4 separate regions of the Homo sapiens genome follow, and all the other regions are linked to region 4. The links are contacts of gene promoters, found by promoter capture Hi-C in blood cells and fetal thymus (Javierre and others, 2016). All regions are on one chromosome and are shown on one strand. The core of a region is centred on a gene start or on the middle of the fragment in contact, and the rest is flanking DNA. Distances in the headings are between cores, read along the strand shown.

What was found. Contacts are between HindIII fragments. The CHiCAGO score rates a contact against its expected background, and 5 or more counts as called.
Region 1: a fragment that was not itself captured here is called in contact with the fragment with the promoter of KRAS in region 4 in 1 of 17 cell types (M1 macrophages); the score reaches 5.5 in M1 macrophages.
Region 2: a contact is called between a fragment that was not itself captured here and the fragment with the promoter of KRAS in region 4, in 1 of 17 cell types (M2 macrophages). The highest score is 6.7, in M2 macrophages.
Region 3: a fragment that was not itself captured here is called in contact with the fragment with the promoter of KRAS in region 4 in 2 of 17 cell types (M1 macrophages and fetal thymus); the score reaches 5.3 in M1 macrophages.

What each region holds. Positions count from the first base shown.
Region 1 is chr12:25,988,474-25,993,464 of GRCh38, reverse strand. The region is part of intron 1 of RASSF8 (Ras association domain family member 8); the gene reads right to left. Among named protein-coding and RNA genes, the nearest start is that of RASSF8-AS1, 32 kb to the right of the region's middle. The HindIII fragment of the contact is 5,683 bases long and covers 378-4,991 here.
Region 2 is chr12:26,030,513-26,035,502 of GRCh38, reverse strand. All of the region lies in intron 2 of RASSF8 (Ras association domain family member 8), which reads right to left. Among named protein-coding and RNA genes, the nearest start is that of RASSF8-AS1, 74 kb to the right of the region's middle. The HindIII fragment of the contact is 1,067 bases long and covers 988-2,054 here.
Region 3 is chr12:25,959,827-25,965,048 of GRCh38, reverse strand. All of the region lies in intron 1 of RASSF8 (Ras association domain family member 8), which reads right to left. Among named protein-coding and RNA genes, the nearest start is that of RASSF8-AS1, 3.0 kb to the right of the region's middle. The HindIII fragment of the contact is 2,695 bases long and covers 2,047-4,741 here.
Region 4 is chr12:25,248,988-25,253,849 of GRCh38, reverse strand. It overlaps KRAS (KRAS proto-oncogene, GTPase), which reads left to right and starts at 2,921. Exons shown (of 5, transcript NM_004985.5): 1 at 2,921-3,099. RefSeq lists silencers at 2,361-3,210, 3,271-3,320. The HindIII fragment of the contact is 14,779 bases long and covers 477-4,862 here.

The sequences.
Region 1 (4,991 bases), core at 1,970-4,469, 740 kb before region 4:
TAACCAACTTTTCTTCAGTAAAGCCTCATCTCATCTCTCTTTTTAGTTGTGTTTTCAAGAAAAACTTTTAAGAGTGGGAAGTAGATAGCTGAGAATGAGTTTCTAAAACTGACATAATTGTTATCTTCTTCATCCATAAAATAAGGTTGTCACTAGAGCCAGAGATTTAAAGGCCAAAAAGATTATGGTGCTTATTCTCCCATATGTAATTCAAACTGACACTAACATATATGCAGAGATTAAAATCTCTCTTTCTTAAACTTTTATAATTGCAAAATTCACTATGAGATGAGATGAGCGGTGCAGGGAGCGGGGGCAGTTCTGTGGGTACCCTGGGAATGTAATGTGCTCAGGGTGTCTCTGGGAAATGCCAAGCTTGACAAAAGTCAGGGCTTGGGCTCTTGTGAACCTGCCCCCCACCCTCAGCTCCCCATTGATTCCTACAACCTCCTAACTACTCAATCCATTGTTCACTCTTCACCAGGTCACTTTACAAAAACTAACAAACCAAAAGATCCAATCCTATTATCCTACTGCTTTTGAAAGTCTCCACAAAAAAGTTCAACCTTCTTTTGTCAGGTAACTGCAGTGACAAAATGTTCCTAACCATAAATACAAACATGAGCTCTGGCAGGTGTGCGAGTACCTAGGAAGGCAATGAGAAACAAGAGGCTTAAGTGAAAACGGTCTCAGGAAACTGCAGGCACTGTGTTTTTTCCACAAACCCCTTCACATCCCTTCCCGTGGCTGTCCAGGCCCACCTCCAGTGCCTCCCCTGAAGCCACCATGTAGCATGCATTACCTCACCCCACTTCAGTTTCCCTGCCTCTCCTTCAAGTTGGCATCCCAGGTGCGGGCCTTACCAAATTTTTGTGCTGGCCAAACTCCAACTCACTCTCCAAGACTCCACTCAAATATGATCTCATCACTCCCTGGAAACTCCCCTTATCAAAACTAGTCACTCCAGGTATTCTCAAGTGGCTGACACTTAGTACTCACTGGTACTGTTCATCGAATTCTCACAACAACCCTGTGAGGCAGGTAATATGTAATAAGGGAATAATTAGAAAAGAATCAAAAGGTTAAATAACTGGCCCAGGGTCATAGAGCTAAACAGGAGAGGCAAGAACTGAACTCAAGCAAATTGACCTCAGAGCCCATGTTCTTCAACAACTGTTTGAAATGTTTGCCTCTTCTTGAGGGCAGAGACACTTTGCACTGACACCTGCATTCACATTGCCTAACACATAAGTGGTACTCAATAAATGTCTGCTGAAGGCTTGATGAATTCAGAGGGTTTTACAGAATGGCAGCAGATTGTACAGTGGTTCTGAGCTTATCCTCAGTGAAAGTCCTGCTCACCTAAATGATTCCTTTTACCTAGATATAATACTCCTATTACCACATGTCTGAAAAACAGTTATCTATTATACAAATATTTGAAATGACCATAAATCAATGAACACCAACATGTAATTATGGGGAAAAGGAGAGGATAAAAATTGGGGCAGCCCCACCAATAATTATATTATTTTTGGTAAAACTTAACGTGATTCAAACATTAATTGGACACTTATAAAAATGTGCTAAAGATTAAGCATTCTTTTATTTTGGTAGCTGGCCTCCACAATGGCCCCCAATGGTTTTCACACCCTTGTGTATTCTTCTCCTACAATGAACAGAGATAACCTGTACAGCCAACAGGATATTGTGGAATGATGACATAAAGACATGGTAGCTTCCATCTTGCTCTCTCTGATCACTTGTCCTGATATAAGCCAGACATTCAAGCAGCCCTATGGAGAGGTCCACATGGTGAGGAGCTGAGGCCTTCTGCCAACAACCAGCGCAAATTTGTGAGGCATGTGAGTGAACCACCTTGGAAGTAGATTTTCCAGCCCCAGTCAAACCTTCATGTAGACTACGTACAAAATGGACTGTCACCTAGGTTGCAACCTTATTAAAGATCCAGAATTAAAACCATTCACCCAAGCCATTCCTGGATCCCTGATCCAAAGAAACTAGGTGAGAGTTCAAAAAAAGAAAAAAAAAAAAGTTACGTCTGTAGGCATGGGGCAACTTGTTATGCAGTAATAAGTAATTTATTTAAATTAAATAGTTTATAGCAATGCAAATAGAAGTTATTGATGTTAACACAATATCAGGTTATTGTAATTTCTAAACACTGAACAAAAGCAAAATAGAATGCTCAAGAATAACTCAAGAGCAAAATAAATTCCAGTTTCCAAGAGGCTCTACCTTTTTTTTTTAAACAACAGAAGAATGCAAACCCTTCATTTCCTTGTATATTTCTTTTAATGACAGCTGATTAATTGTTGGGTGTGCTCCCTTCCTCCAAACTAGGCCCACCAGGACAGATAATCAATGGACAATATTGACATTTCTATTACTGTAAAAATGAGAAGAGTTTATTGCTCTGGTTATTTAAGTATTATAGATCAGCTAAAAAGTCTAAAAGTTTTGGAGGAAACCAGCTACTCTCTACTCTGTGACTCCAAGATCCCCAAAATGTTTTCTGTGTGTGTGTGTGTGTATTTTTTTAGGCACATTTCTTTTTATTGAAAAGAGAAAACCCGTTTGAAATTGTAAATATTCAACTACAAATAAACTATGGTAGCACATTTTCATAAGTGATATCCCTGTGTATCCACAAAATAAACTATAAATACTACAGAATTCTAAACTATTCCTAAATTTTTGTTGTCTAATAAAAGAGTGGGAACATTCAAGGTGGTTTTTTCACCTTGTCATCAAAATACAAAGACTTACATCTCCAAATATAATTCAGTTTTGCTAAACGCAATACACAATGTTAGTAAGGAAGGTATCTTAGGTTTTACATAGTCCATATGAAATGTTAATAAGATGATCACAGAAACAATAAGGTAGATATTCTATGGAAATAAATCCATTATGATGCTATTAAGCTATATTAGTTTGCAAAGCAGAGAAAAATGGTAATACCAAAATTAATTATTTATATAATAAACCTTTACCAAGCTCTTATCATATTTAAAATACCACAGGGATTACAATGATGAAGATATGGGTTTCATTCCACTAACTACAGTACTTGTGAAATGTAACTAATGCCTAGTAACAATAGTATCAAATAAATGTTTGATAAACACCAAAGAGATTTGGAAAAAAGCTACAGCAGAGTTCATACAAGAGAAATCACTAATGGCTGGTGGATATCCAGGAAGCCTTCATGAAATAAGCCCCTTATGCTTATATATGGCTGTAATTTTTTTTACTTTTTTCACATTAATTTATCAATATTCCCATTATACAGGTTATACAAAGTTGAGGTTAAGATTAGGTGACTTGATCAGGATGCATTTCCTTGCTTTAAAAAGTAATAATAGGCACTCAACAAATAAGTCCCAGGCACCACTCTGCCCAGTTCAGACACTGTTCACAACCTTGTCAAGGTCAATCCTACAGTCTCCATTTTGCACATGAAGAAACTAAGATTTCAGATTTAGTACCTTCCCGGGTTCAGGTGACTAGTAAACGGTGGAGCCCTGATTTGAACTCAGATGTACTTGATTTTAAAACTTCTGCCAGACTCCCATACTGGGTAAATTCACCTATCCCATGCTGCTCTTAGCAAATGTTCATACTCTCTACCATAATTCCTCCACCCCCATGCCCCACCACACCCTTGACCTAATAAACTGATCCATAAACCATAAGGAATTGAAATGCATCCTTGTTAGTCTTATGATTTGTTATTAAATGTTATGCAAGAAATCAGAAGAGTGGCAGAGGAGAAGGGATAAGACAAGAAAGAGATATGATCAATTGTTTTTTAAATAGCTAAGTAATCATTTTTGTTTAAACCAGTTTGGAAAATGAATTTCATCAACTTTAGTAGACAAGCTATAAGATGACTATTTGAATAAAGTCTCCTTCTCCTGGATAACACTTCAATATTTCACACAACAGAGAGCTTTTTTCAGAAAACCAACTTCGCCGTTTTGATAAGTATTCATCATATTATTTAGGTGTCTTCTATCATTCCAATTTGAATCAGAAAGAAAGAGGGGGTGGGGGGAAAGAAAGACACTGTTAAATGCCTATAGATTAAGACAAATATAAAACACACTAGTAGTAGAAACTGTGTTTCACTATAGAACACACATCAGAAAATGTGAAATCAGGACATACTAAAGGTTTACATCAAGGAAGCCCCCAGAAAAGAACAGTATGGCTGTGGGTGTGACCCAGTGATTATGAGAAAACATATGGTTGGGCCTTAGTTTTAAGAGAAAACATTCTGACAGGCAGAAATGTTGGGAGGGAAAGAAACCTGAAGAACAGACAAGTAGAATCACTCTGCAAAGGAGACATTGTAAATCTGTCTTTACTACCGCTTGGTAAGTACAAGGCTCTGTTGGAGGCACAGTGAGTTTGCAGAATTCCAGCAAGATAGGCATACCCCTCAGAGATGCTTTCTAAAATCAAGAAAAATTCAAAAAGCTAACTAGTTTTTAAGTTAAGTGAAGAAAATTACAAAGGTAATTAAACAGATGTTGTGAACCATCCTCCAGGAGACAGTTTCTCTAAACATACTATAGGAATTCTCGGGAGGTTTCCACACTGTTTTGTTACTTGTTTAGACCCATTTCCCTACCATACCATGGAATCCCATCCCATTTCTTCTTTATGGTCCCACCACCTAGCACAGGATCTGGCAAACTCAATAAATGAGAACCAGAGGAAGGCCAGGAGGGGTTCCTGATAAAGCAGGAATTTCACATACTATTTCCTGAACTGGCAGTGCAGGTGGCTGATACAAATCTCTCTTCTTCTCCCCTACAAATGATTGTTTAGTCATGAGGGAGAGGGCTATTTTCTAAATGAAAGAAATTTTTTTTATTAAATTGTGACTTTAAGTTCTATTTTTGTACTAACAGAAACGAATCCCAAATAATGACTGCAGTCACCATTCCCCAATCACCCTG
Region 2 (4,990 bases), core at 272-2,771, 780 kb before region 4:
ATATAATTTCATATAATTATATAATTATATAATATAATTATATAATTTCATATACTTATATTATATAATTATATAATTTCATATACTTATATAATTATATAATTTCATATAATTATATTATATGATTATATAATTTCATCTTTTCAGTATTTTCTGGGCTTAAAATTTTTTCTCTTACAATAAACACTTTCATTTTGTTTAAAGAAATATTAACTGTGTGAAGAAGTTCTTCTGTTTCTAGCCGAAGTAGCATTCTTCTCAGCCAACTTTGAAGACAGGGACTAGCTATCACTAAACCCTACAACTTATCATACAAGAGTAAAACTGGTTGGAAAGCCATTTCCACAGAGTAGGGGTCAGTGCCTTAGTACAGCCTAGAAGAGAAGTTCATTAACTAACCTTACTTCTAGGGATTAATAATTTTTACCAGTAGTATTGGACAACTGGAAAAACGTCTATTAAAGTTTATAGGGCAACACCAGAGTAATCACCATAATACCAAAAATAGGATAGTTCATAGTGACTAATTCACACAGAAATTAAAAACCAAATGCTATGACAAACAGTACCTAGAAAGGTAAAAGCAGTCTACAACAAACCAATGAGAATGCATCTACACTTGGTGAATCTGCTGTATGGTGTTTTTTAGTTAGATGTTTTTTTTTAATGTAGCTTAAATATCATGAATTTTAATAGGCACATTACATGGAAAAGATGTAATAAATAATTTTGCTGTGTTTGGATCTTATCCCACCCTTGTTTGATTTCCCCTCATGCATTCTAGCTAGGATGTAAAAAGTAGGAGGTTCCTTAATTTCGAAATATGGGAAATAAATGCTGGAGGAAAAGGAATAGGAGTTACTTAGCCTGTCAGAAAGAATAATGATCTTTTTCTCCCCCCTAAGATTATTTGCTTAGTCATTCCCACTGAAAAGAATGAGTTTAATTTTGGAAGTGGTAGGAATGATAGAAATCCTAGATCAAGCTTGTCCAACATGTGGCCTGCGGGCTGCATGCGGCCCAGATGGCTTTAAATGCGGCCCAACATAAATGCATAATCTTTCTTAAAACATCATGAGATTTTTTTTTTTTTTTTACTTCATCTGCTATTGTTAGTGTATTTTATGTGTTGCCCAAGTCAATTCTTCTTCCAATGTGGCCCAGGGAAGCCAAAAGATTGAACACCTCTGTCCTAGACAGACCATAGGGCTATTTTGTCCTGCCCCTGTGGACTTAGGGACATTGACACATCTCCCCTCACTCCTACTCCTTCACCCCCAAATCCCAGCTAATGCTGTGATTATCTTAGTTGAACAGTGTGCCACGTGCTTACCATTTGCCCACCTCACTCCAGCCCGTTCTTCAACTACTCCCCACCTTTGTGAGGCAGCCACATCTCCCTGCCCTGCCATGTATTGCTTCCTCTGCTTGGAACATCTTTCTCCCCACTCCACCACCACCTCCCTGCTAGCTTGCTGGGGTCTGGTCGACATGATGGTGGTGGGGAGAAGGCACCAGCAGATCCAAGTGCTTCCTCTTTGCTAGGCACATACAACGACTCAGAATAATCCACTGAGGTCATGTTTTTATTCTCATCCCCATTTTACAAATGAGGCCCTGGAGGCTCAGAAAGGTGAACTAGTTGGAGACAATACAACTGGTAGGAGATGGGAGCTGAGATCTGAGTGGAGGCTGATTTGAGAGTCCTGGCATTCAACCTTTATCTGGAAGGTGGCAAACTTGACAGGGACAAGGCAGATGTGCATATTAAATGCAAAGAAACAGTTTTCACCTCCACAAAGAAATATGCCATTAAAAAATTTCAATACTTGGCTCTACGTTTCTTTCTTTCTATGAAGATGGATACTATTCATCTTATGCCTCTATCATTAAAAAAAAGAAACCCAACAGTGTTTGCAGAACTTATTTCCTTTTTCCCTCCAAAATAACAATCTGGATAATCATATTAATATCATTTTTCTAGCAAAACCACTTACATTCTAGAAAATGCTAATGTGCTTTTAGCATGAAAGAATGAAAATAATACCTAAGCTTTAACACAAATATAGTGGAAAAATATAAAAAGATGTGGAAGATCTCATTATTCTTGTCATTTTATATTGTGAAATCAAAAACATGCTATAAAACAATTTGTGGGTTTTCTGTTATGACCTGAAAGATCACAATTTTTACTTAGTGCTTCAATACATACATGAGAAAATACCAAATTCTTTTGCTCAAAGGAACTCCAGCATACCTTGAAATGGCCTGAGAGCTGAGCCTCAGTTTTGGTAAGAATGTGGTCTCCCACTGATCAACTTGATCCCCTCTGGTCTCATTACAGAGTATTTATGATTCAGCTGAACCATTTAGCAACATTTAAACCATCCTTAGTATTTACCTCAGGGGAAAAGTCACATTTCAAGGATAGTTGAAGTATCTAATATATTTAGTTGCTACTCTAAAGAAGACAGGCCTGCTTGAAAACAAGATCACAGCATACATTGCTCTCTGCAGGACCTCTGTGGGTAGGAAGCTCTTTCTTTTAACTGATTATGTAATATTTTAGCTTTGGTAGTAAAAGATTCCAGATGTTTACTCTAACAGCTTTGTAGACACATGGGGATTGATGTTAGACACATAATCACTGGTTTTGGAGCAGGGCCAATTGTGTACATACGCTGTTTAATTATGTTGACACTCCAGACATTTCAAACATCAACAGAATTTCTCAGCTCATATTCCCATTATGATTCCTGCTTTAAATGATTATAGATGGGTATGGAAACTGGGCATTACGCATGCTAATGAAATCTATCTAGCTCTTTTCACTTTTAATAGATTTGGAGGTTTCATGGGTTAAAACTCCCTTAAGCTATAAATTGCAGGTAAATATAATAAAAAAACTGCCAGGAAACATTTCCCTCAGAATTTTTTGTTGCATGCTAATGTAGCAATTTCAAAAAAATTTGTCATTGTTCTCCTTCCTAAAAATTCACATGTCACAAGGGAACCTTTGACTCAGCCATGAAACAGTCCCAAGAGTCCTAGAACTTGACTTTGGGAAATACTTCTCCATACAAACAGTGCTAGAAGTTTGTTTTCTATCAACATTCCAAAGTTTGTTACCTAGATGATTTGGAACAACCTGCTATGAGTACGAAAAACATACACAGAATTTTAATGTATATTAATGACTCAAATTTCTCCCACTTCCTTTCGGGGAAAATGAAGCAATAACATACACAATATTCCCATAAACTTTTTAAAAGACATTTCAAAGTTTTATATGTGAAAATGCAAAATGACTAGCTCATCACAAGAAAGGATAAACTGGGCTAACAAACTGCTACAAACTGAAGGACCTTTTCAAAAAAGCAAGCTCAATGGAAAATTCCCTGATTGGTAAATTTTCCAGATACAAAATTTCCAAGCATCTCAAGACCATAGTTCTCCTAAGTCACTACTTCTGGGATATGGGAAGTTTCCTTCATGTACTGTAAGCTGCTGACATCATGCACATAAATGTAAACCAAAACATGTATTTCATCAAAGTAACTAACATGATGATGAGAAACAGGATATTTTGAAACATATTTATAAGCAAAACATATAGGTCAGATTAAGCCATTGAAGCATCTCCTCAGATTTTTTAGATTACTCTGAATAAGAAATATTTTCAAAAATGATGGAAATATCTGTAGTTTTACATGTGTGGCTGCTATTGAAATCTCTATTAACCCTCTTTTTCTCAAGTTCTCCCATTCCCACTCTGATCCCGCAGACCCTACCTAACAAGTGCCTTTAGAAGCAGGCAAGCATTTTCTAGTCCTCTATTTTAAGTCTCTCAGACCACCAACTACTTACCATTCTTACTGCCAACAGCAATAGTTCCAAACCTTTATCATCTCAGGTCCTTATAATTTTATAGTTGCTTACACCTCTCTGTGATCCACCTGGCACACTGCCACCAAATCTGACCCTGCCCTCAGTTGGGCTCAAATCCTGTTAGTAACTCTACTGGGCCTGTGGCAGAAGCTTAACAAAGGGCTGCTGATTGAGTTCAAGAACTCTACACTGATTTCACACCATCATGATGAGGATGGATGGGTCTCACGTGTAACGATGAGCCAAAATATACTTTGAGAATCCAAGTTAAATGGCAGTGTTTAGAAAAAAAAATACTGAAACAATCTAGCATCTTGGGGTGTTGGAATTTTAAAGGTTTGACAATTGGCAAAATCAAAGTAATCCAGAAATCTAACCCAATGTACTGGCAGAGTATCACAAACCCTCATAATACCTCAAAAAAAAATGGGGCAGGGGGAGTCTACAAGTTAAATTTGGCACCAAGTTACTAGTTGTAAAATAAAGCTTATTTGATTGTTGTCTCAGGCATTACGTAACTGTAAAGAGTCTTCATTTATACTGAAAGCTGCAGCAGTAAAAGCTGCAGACATATTTAAGAAGAAATATCATATTTCCTACTGCTTCAACTCACTGTTCCTGACCATCTTGAAGGGGTCTGCAAGTTATGGCCCGCTACCTGGTTTGTAAATAAAGTTGAATTGAAAACAGTCGGGTTCATTCATTTACGTACTGTCTATGGCTGCTCATGTGCTACAATGAAGTTGAGTAGTAACAACAGGGACCATATTGCCTGCAAAGCCTAAAATATTTATTTACCTAGCCCCAAAACCAGGCACTTGTCTGGTACAGTATGGGTGAGGAAATACTTTTTAAGTCCTAACTTTGTTCCAGAAGTTAATCTGGGCTGCTTATCTACTAAAATCTAAGTTTAGGAAAAAAAAAAAAGATAACTTCGGGGATGTCTATTTGGTTTGAAAAGAAAGAAGTTAAATATTATTCACTTGACTAACATGTATTTCTAAGTGGGAATTTCTGTTGCACTGCAACATCTCAGCATTTTTACTATGGCATTAGTAACAGCACTGCAGAGCATCACAGGCTGTAAAAACATTTCCATGTG
Region 3 (5,222 bases), core at 2,145-4,644, 710 kb before region 4:
ATGGCATGAACCCGGGAGGCGGAGCTTGCAGTGAGCCAAGATCGTGCCACTGCACTCCAGCCTGGACGACAGAGCAAGACTCCGTCTCAAAAAATATATAAATTAATTAATTAAATAAAGCTGTTTAAAAAAAGAAATATAAGGGAAGTCATTATACACTAAAAAGAAAAAATACAGCACAAATAAACTACTATAAGATATTCTGACATTTAACGTATTAGAACTTCCCATAGAAATGAACAAATTTTACCTTCAACATTACAAAACATCCCTATTTCTCACTGGTATTTTTACAGTAGAGTTTCATCGATTATAAATCCACTCAAATATTTTAAGCAAAAATAAGGGTAAAACCTTACTTTCTGCCCAATATCTATCCATTAAAGAGAATCCCAATTTCTTTTAAACATATATACTTGTATCTGGAAGAATAATTTAGTCTTAAGCGATTTTCCAATAGTAAAATTACTATAAGGATAAACATGATTTAGCACTCACGAGCCAATGATAGCTAACAACAGTGACCAAATATAACAACAGTGACAAAATATATTACCTACATAAAACCTGGTAGCAAACCATCACAGCTCTCCTCTTGTTATAACCTGCATTTACATCTGATTTCTTTTTAAAACAAAGAGTAAAACATATGCTAATGAGTAAGAAAATATTTTGCTGCATACATAAAATTTGGACAGCCCTACAGTTCACTGCAATATTTTGTGATATATCTGAATGTGATTTAAAAAAAAAAAAAAACACTTGCTAAGAATAGCTTTCTAAATCCTATAGCAAGTCTGTGAAATAAATGGGTAATAAATATTATTGGTGTTAAAAAGCTCAAGGCAACTTGTTCAAGGTCACCCAAGTAACCAGTGGACATATATACATGGTGGAAAAAAAATAACAAGGGTTCCCAACCATAACTTTCCTCTCCTCCACAGTGGCAGCTACTCGTGATGCGAATGTCCTGCAGGCACAGAGGGCCTACACGAGGCAAATCACCTGGTGTGCCCCTCTCAGGGCTTGCTCTCAACATTTTTAAAATCAGGTCTAAATAAGCACCAGGGTAAGGGTCTGGCTTGCAGGGGCATCTCTCTCTTCTCATGCCTTCCTGACTAGAAAATCAGGAGTGGGGAAATGTAGGAACAAAAGGAACAATTTTCTTTTGTGAAGCAAATATATGGAAAGAAAGCCTAAGCTTCACTTTTCCAATTCTGACCAGATAAACTACTCACTCCTCCTCTTCGAGAGCACCCAACAGGGGCTCAAAAATGCTGCTTTCATCCTCCTTGCTCTCCCAACCCAAGAGCACCCAGGCTACGGAAACCTCAGGGTCCAGACCACTCAAAGGATCACAGTTTGGGAACCCCCGAGGTGGACTGCAGAGGAGTACGTTCTGAAGGACTTGAATCAGCTCCAAAGTGCCCCCACACACTCAGTGATCTATAAGATACAAAACTAGAAAGAACTAGAACTACACTCTAAGGGTGTGAGGAAATGATTTTTAAGGAATACTAAAGTCCTAAAAAACAAGTCAAGAGAAAAATGCAGAATTATGTAAGAAGTAGAGATTACAAACATCAATAACAGACATAAGTACTTCAGAGTTAGAGGACATCAAGCTAATATTTCGTAAAGAGCAACCACATGACAAAAATACTCAAAGCTGTAAGCCTTCCTTGGCCTTGGAAGGTCATGAGACTTTTTTTTTTTTTTTTTTTTTTGGCTAAAACAAGGAATGCTTTAGTGAGAGAGAAGAAAAGAACTTCCAGACTTCTAGGTGGCTCCCACTTTTTTTAAAAAAAACTCCTCCTCTCTCTTAAGTGTATGGTCCAGTGATGTCTGGTTACCATGCAAGTCACATCAACAGCTGGACAGCACTGAGCATCCTTAGAACTCTAGGTCTTGTTTTTCTACTAAAGTTTTCCCAATCTTCCTTTGATGTCTGGCACCACCAGCCGACAGCAGCTGACTAACGTGTTATCATGTGACGCTCTGTAAAATAGTAAGGCACAGTAAGATTTTTTTTCCTTTCAGTAAGCTTATGCTGATAAAAAAATAATTATTTTAATGATGTATTTAGAAAAAGGATTATGTACAACAGAAAGTCACAAGGGTAACACTAATTAAAAGGTGTCTCAATTTATTACTACGAATATTTCACAGAACCTACATGCATTTTTACCTGATATTTGCAAAGGCCGTTTCATATTATACATATAACCAGCAAAGAAGGAATATAGAAAAGTGTGGGTCTGGCTTTTCTATCATGAAAAGCAAATTTAACAGTGATAAAGAAGGCAATCAAGATACAAATACAGAAGCCAGGCATGGTGGCACACACCTGTAGTCCCAGCTACTCAGGAGGCTGAGGCAGGAGGATCACTTGAGGCCAGGAGTTTAAGACCAACTGGGCAACATAGTAAGACTCCATTTCAAAAAAAAAAGATAAAGATACAAACTGATATTACGATCTTACTCATTATATCAACATATTTATTGAGCACCTACTACATATACTGGGCACTGGTGATTAAACCAGGTATTATCAACTTCATATTAACCTAAAGGGCAAGAAAAGGACCCTAAGTGATTAAATAATATATAAATTGTGGTAAATATTCAGAAGCAAAAGTGATTACGCTATGAGGGAGAAAATAAAGGACATTTAATTCGCATGACGATAAGGGTGGGCTTGTCAGAGAAGACCTTTATGAGAAAGGACATTTGAGCTAGCACCCAAGGATGATAAGTTACTCAAGGAGATGATCCTAAAATAGGGAGACCAACAGCATGAGCCACAGGCCTGAGGCTAGTCTGCTGGAGAACTGGCCAAGATGACAGCAAGAGATGCAAGTGGATGTAGAGATCAAATCATGCAGGATCCTGAAGTAATGTCAAGGATTTGGTATCTTATCCCAAAAATAAATAAATGTGTTTCCTGAGAGCCCTGACAACTTTAAGACGGCAAATACTTTTTCTTTTTTTTTTCAGGCTGCTGGTAGTAAAACAGACTGCAAGGGGTGCAGAGTGTGTGCAGGAGGCACCGCACCAAGGAAAAAGATAATACAGTACAGTGGCTTGCATTAGGATGGCAGAATAGTGGGGACTGAAAATCAGACCGGTTTGAAAGAGATTTTGCAATAAAAATGGACAGCAGGACTTTATGATGGACTGGTTTGCTAGGGCTGATAGAAGAAAAGAGAGAGTGGAGTGAGCTACTCCTTGGATGGATGAGATGAAAAATGGAGGGGGAACAGTTTGAAAGTTTGAGTGACCAAGAGCTCAATTCTGAAGGAGTTTGAGATGTTGTCATTTATTGGCTGAAATGTGCCAGGCACATCTAATATATATTAGATGTTCTACTCACCATAGCATCCCTTTAAGTAGTGGTATCCCCATTTTCCAGAAATGCAACTGTAGATCACAGAGGCTGAAGTGGCATGGCCGAGCTCACTCACCTCGGGAGTGACAAAGTCACACGTGCAACCCAAGTCTGGCTGGCAGTGGGGTAAACATTCTTTCCACTATACAGAATACTTGGAAACTCTCTCTACACTTTGAATTTTTAAGTCTATTTAGGGTTAGAGCAAGTTAGCATCAAAGAAGAGTAAATAAACGTTATATTATTTTGTAATCCAAATCTTTAATTTATGATGCATGTTTTTCTATCCAACTCCCATTCCCACTCCACTTTTACTTGCAAAGAGTTTTGTAATGTTTTGAACACTAGCAAGATATCTAAGATCTTAATGTTTTATAATAAAGGAGCAAAGCCATTATGCCAGGAATTAACCATAAGAAAAAGACAACAATATCCCACGGCAAACAATATTTTTACTTCCAAGTCATTATATACATCAACATAAAACAGATCAATTAATGAGTCAGAAACCCTGAAGAACTAATCATTTCTCAAAACACAAGGCAGTCAGGTCAAAAACTGACGTAAGTCACCACGTATAGAAGCCTACAAGAGCCAAACACTGAAGATTCAGGTTAAAAGGTTGCAACCTTAAAAAAATAAATAAAAGGCAAAACAAATTATACAACCATGTCGAATTTTAAATCTGTAATTACCAAATATCTGAACCAAATGCCAAATTCAGGAAACATGCATCCTATAAACAACTTAAACACTCTCTGTTCTTTGTAACTGTTTTTTCCAGAAGCACACTGACACTTCTGCAAAGTGAAGTGCCTTTCCTGCCTGCACAGCCCCATGATTTGCTCCCTCTCAGGGCCCTCTAATGCACCCCTAAGCTACTAAAGCCCAGACATAAGATTTGATCAATAAACCTAGAAAGAACTCAGTGCATTACTGCCAATTGTGTCCATCACAGAAAGTACCACCTGGAGACTCTTGAGGAAAAAAATGAGGAAGGGGGAGATTTTTGAAAGGTTTTATCATCTGTATTACAAATTATATTTTGTTGTACTTGATCCTTGAATAGAATAATCATCAAACTATGTTCAGTCTTCTTCAAGTGGGGGATGGTCATGTGTAATTTTATGGTTTGGGGAGTGTGCCTCATAGAGATAAATAAAATTAAAAGTACCATTAGTATGCCCGCTAAAAGATAAAACTCACACAAACCACTTCCCCAAATGATAGTGCTGTCTCCTGCGTCCTGATTTTTGCGTCCACCCTGCACCTCTCCCTGCAGAAAGCTGGCTGGCATTCACTACCGCCTCACTCTGGCAAAGGACAGGATGTCGAAAACCCATTAAGAAAGCTTCTCATTTTCTGTTCCTTCATAACATGATGGCAACTCCTGGCAACTCCAAGATGAAAGGCAAAAAAGAAAATAAAAACTACCTGGGGCCCCCTACCAGAATGAGTGGTTAATCTAATGGAGAGAAAAGCAGAGATTTATACATATTTTAAAATGCTTCCTGGGGACAAAGCAGATCTAATGAATTGCTGAGCCACAATCTACTGGAAAATCCATAAATGTTCGTCCCTGCTGTCACAGGGCTAGAGGATTTTTTTTTTTAATGAAATGCTTTAATGCTAACCTGACAGGGCTAACCTGACAGGTTTAAGTCAGCTATGAGACGTGATTTGCATTCATTTCGCTTCTAAATCCCTAAAGATCAGCAACAATATTGACCCGCAATTATATATCCTACGTTGCACTGTTCAAGATGCCATTTGAGGCTGGGAAAGTAGTGGTTTAGCAACACCAGGCGGCTCTATGATGCTAAAATAACAACGC
Region 4 (4,862 bases), core at 1,672-4,171:
TCAGAGTTTCTCAATGTGCACACAGTGAACTACCAGTTTAGGATCATTTGATTTGCTAAAAATGAAGATTACTGGTCTACCTTAGACCAACTGAATAAAATATCTGGGTGAGGGGCCTAGGAACTTGCATTTTTGGTAGGCATGGCAGGTGATTCCTAAAGCATTTACCCTTGAGACCTCTATGTTAAGGAAAGAAAGGTAATGTTGCAAGGAGGTGGTGCCGGCTTCTAAGAAAGTACCCAGGACTGAACGGCAGAAAGACCTGACATACCATATGTATAAATTGCTGTGGAAGTGAAAAGGAAAGAGAAAGTGTCTGAGGTAAAACTGGAGTGTGGGGTGCGTGGAACAAATGGTTGGATGCAGATTTGCTTTACGAATCATGAGCCTAGATGATAACTGAGACCATGTGGATGGATTAGGTTTCTGCTAATGCCAGAATTTTTATAATCAGCATAAAAGTGCTATATAAAGCTTTCCCCTCTTCTATATTATAGTCCTTTTAAGATGTATGGAACATCAACTATAGGAAGAACATCATATTCACAGCTGTAAGAGGAAACAAGAACTTATCATGCACTTGATGTTGTACAAAATAAATCTGTGATTTATGCTTGAGTGACCACAAAGTAGCATACACATAAGCGCAAATTCATTCATTTAAGAATTCCTTGTGTCTATTATGTACGAGATAAGTATCTCTGAGCTGCACGGAATGTGGCTTATCAGAAGGTGACCTAAGTTTCAAAGCAGATTTTGTTAAGATGAAGACAGAGATTGACAGGAGGTTTAAGACACTCTGTCTAAAGTAAAGATTTAGAGTCACAGAGTTCATGGATTAGGATTTAGAATCCACAGAGGGTCCACAGATTCACTCATTCAACATTCCATAAATATTTATTGAATGCCTTTTTGTGTCAGAGACTGTCTTAGGTGCTGGAAATTTAGCAGTAAATGAAACAGACCAAAACCCATGCCCTCATGGAGCTTACATTCTGATGGTAGAGAGACAAGAAAACAAAATAGATAGTGTATTATTGAAGGTGATGAGAGCTCTGGAGAAAAAGTAGGAAAAGAGACAGATCTGGGACAAGGGCGAAATTACAGTATCAAAGATGATCTTTTTAGGGAAGATCTCCTTTTAAAAACACTTTGGAACAAAGATTTAAATGAGGTGCCAGAGGGGTAGCAAGTGCATATTCCCTGAGGAAGACGCCTGCCTGGCATTTTCAAGGAACAGCCAGTAACCAATGTTTATCTACGTAAGTAAGGAAGGGAGAACAGTAGGATGAGAGTTCAGAGAAGAGGGTAGGGGATATCAAATAATTTAAGGCCATGTAGGATTTTTGAGAAGAATTTTGCTTTTATGTCAAGTGGAATGAGGGCCACTGATGATCTGGGAGTAGAGTGACTATGATCCGACATGAAGTATACTCCATTTTTTAACTATGTGAACTTGTGCCAACGTTTTAACCTCTAAATCTGTTTCGTCATTTGTAAAACGGTAAAAAGTATTTTACCTCATAAGGTTGTCGTGATGATTAAATAAGATGATACGATAAGTGCAAAAGATTTAGCTTGTACTTAACATAGAGTAGGCACATTTTCTCCCCTTCCCTGTCTTTCACTTTTCTCTTCTGCCCCTTCCACCTGGCGCTAGGAGGGGGAGACTGGAATAAACCTTGCAGATTACAGCCCGTGTAAGAGTAGAAAGGAAAGGATGACAGTTGATGTAAAGCCTTGGTTAACAGACATAATAGCTGGGATTTAAATTCAGCTTTATTGGTGGTTTATGATGTGGACTAGAGGAATGGAACTGAAAGTCTCGGAGGAGGGGCGATCCTATCAGGTACAGGCGCTGCTTTTCCAGCCCTCAATCCTCAAGACTCTCCCAAGATACATTTCTAGGTAGTTTATCAACACAGACTCCGGGTATGCTAGCATGTTTAATTGCCCCATTGTTTAATGTCTTAACTCCACGAACTTTAACTGATTAATCTGTCTTCTAATTAATGTTTGAATGACTCTCCTCAGGTCTAAACTACCAAGGCCATCTCTACTTAAAAACAGTTGTCTTTTGTTTGTGATTTCAGGGGCCCTGGGTATAAGCGAAGTCCCTGTTTAGAGACCTTGTGATGGGTTCAAAATATCAAGAAAGATAGCAAAATATCACAAGCCTCCTGACCCGAGAAGATTAGCGTTGAAAGGGTCTGTCGTGTTTGTTTGGGCCTGGGGCTAAATTCCCAGCCCAAGTGCTGAGGCTGATAATAATCGGGGCGGCGATCAGACAGCCCCGGTGTGGGAAATCGTCCGCCCGGTCTCCCTAAGTCCCCGAAGTCGCCTCCCACTTTTGGTGACTGCTTGTTTATTTACATGCAGTCAATGATAGTAAATGGATGCGCGCCAGTATAGGCCGACCCTGAGGGTGGCGGGGTGCTCTTCGCAGCTTCTCTGTGGAGACCGGTCAGCGGGGCGGCGTGGCCGCTCGCGGCGTCTCCCTGGTGGCATCCGCACAGCCCGCCGCGGTCCGGTCCCGCTCCGGGTCAGAATTGGCGGCTGCGGGGACAGCCTTGCGGCTAGGCAGGGGGCGGGCCGCCGCGTGGGTCCGGCAGTCCCTCCTCCCGCCAAGGCGCCGCCCAGACCCGCTCTCCAGCCGGCCCGGCTCGCCACCCTAGACCGCCCCAGCCACCCCTTCCTCCGCCGGCCCGGCCCCCGCTCCTCCCCCGCCGGCCCGGCCCGGCCCCCTCCTTCTCCCCGCCGGCGCTCGCTGCCTCCCCCTCTTCCCTCTTCCCACACCGCCCTCAGCCGCTCCCTCTCGTACGCCCGTCTGAAGAAGAATCGAGCGCGGAACGCATCGATAGCTCTGCCCTCTGCGGCCGCCCGGCCCCGAACTCATCGGTGTGCTCGGAGCTCGATTTTCCTAGGCGGCGGCCGCGGCGGCGGAGGCAGCAGCGGCGGCGGCAGTGGCGGCGGCGAAGGTGGCGGCGGCTCGGCCAGTACTCCCGGCCCCCGCCATTTCGGACTGGGAGCGAGCGCGGCGCAGGCACTGAAGGCGGCGGCGGGGCCAGAGGCTCAGCGGCTCCCAGGTGCGGGAGAGAGGTACGGAGCGGACCACCCCTCCTGGGCCCCTGCCCGGGTCCCGACCCTCTTTGCCGGCGCCGGGCGGGGCCGGCGGCGAGTGAATGAATTAGGGGTCCCCGGAGGGGCGGGTGGGGGGCGCGGGCGCGGGGTCGGGGCGGGCTGGGTGAGAGGGGTCTGCAGGGGGGAGGCGCGCGGACGCGGCGGCGCGGGGAGTGAGGAATGGGCGGTGCGGGGCTGAGGAGGGTGAGGCTGGAGGCGGTCGCCGCTGGTGCTGCTTCCTGGACGGGGAACCCCTTCCTTCCTCCTCCCCGAGAGCCGCGGCTGGAGGCTTCTGGGGAGAAACTCGGGCCGGGCCGGCTGCCCCTCGGAGCGGTGGGGTGCGGTGGAGGTTACTCCCGCGGCGCCCCGGCCTCCCCTCCCCCTCTCCCCGCTCCCGCACCTCTTGCCTCCCTTTCCAGCACTCGGCTGCCTCGGTCCAGCCTTCCCTGCTGCATTTGGCATCTCTAGGACGAAGGTATAAACTTCTCCCTCGAGCGCAGGCTGGACGGATAGTGGTCCTTTTCCGTGTGTAGGGGATGTGTGAGTAAGAGGGGAGGTCACGTTTTGGAAGAGCATAGGAAAGTGCTTAGAGACCACTGTTTGAGGTTATTGTGTTTGGAAAAAAATGCATCTGCCTCCGAGTTCCTGAATGCTCCCCTCCCCCATGTATGGGCTGTGACATTGCTGTGGCCACAAAGGAGGAGGTGGAGGTAGAGATGGTGGAAGAACAGGTGGCCAACACCCTACACGTAGAGCCTGTGACCTACAGTGAAAAGGAAAAAGTTAATCCCAGATGGTCTGTTTTGCTTGGTCAAGTTAAACCCGAAGAAAACCCGCAGAGCAGAAGCAAGGCTTTTTCCTTGCTAGTTGAGTGTAGACAGCAATAGCAAAAATAGTACTTGAAGTTTAATTTACCTGTTCTTGTCCTTTCCCCTATTTCTTATGTATTACCCTCATCCCCTCGTCTCTTTTATACTACCCTCATTTTGCAGATGTGTTCTACATCTCAAGAGTTATTACAGTACTCCAAAACAGCACTTACATGATTTTTTAAACTTACAGAGGAATTGTAGCAATCCACCAGCTAACCGCCTGAAATAGACTTAAACATGTGCATCTCCTTTTTTTTTTTTTTTTTGAGACACAGTCTCGCTCTGTTGCCCAGGCTGGAGTGCAATGGCGCGGTATCGGCTCACTGAAACCTCCGCCTCCTGGGTTCAAGCAATTCTCCTGCCTCAGCCTCCCGAGTAGCTGGGACTAGTAGGTGCACGCCACCATGCCCAGCTAATTTTTGTATTTTTAGTAGAGACAGAGTTTCATCATGTTGGTCAGGATGGTCTCCATCTGCTCTGTTGCCCAGGCTGGAGTGCAGTGGCGCCGTCTCGGCTCACTGCAACCTCTGCCTCCTGCATTCAAGCAATTCTCCTGCCTCAGCCTCCCGAATAACTGGGATTACAGGTGTCTGCTGCCATGCCCGGCTAATTTTTTGTATTTTTAGTAGAGACGGGGGTTTCACCATGTTGGTCAGGCTGGTCTAGAACTCCTGACCTCGTGATCTGCCCGCCTCGGCCTCCCACAGTGGCATGTGCATCTTATAGCTGAAGTCTAAGCCTTCTTAAATCTTGAGATCCATCAAAACAGACAGGTTTTCTAATTGTTATACAATGTATATGTTATGTTTATAATAGAAATCATTTTACAAATAAGTTATAAATGGGAAAGGTCTATTTGTAATTATCAGC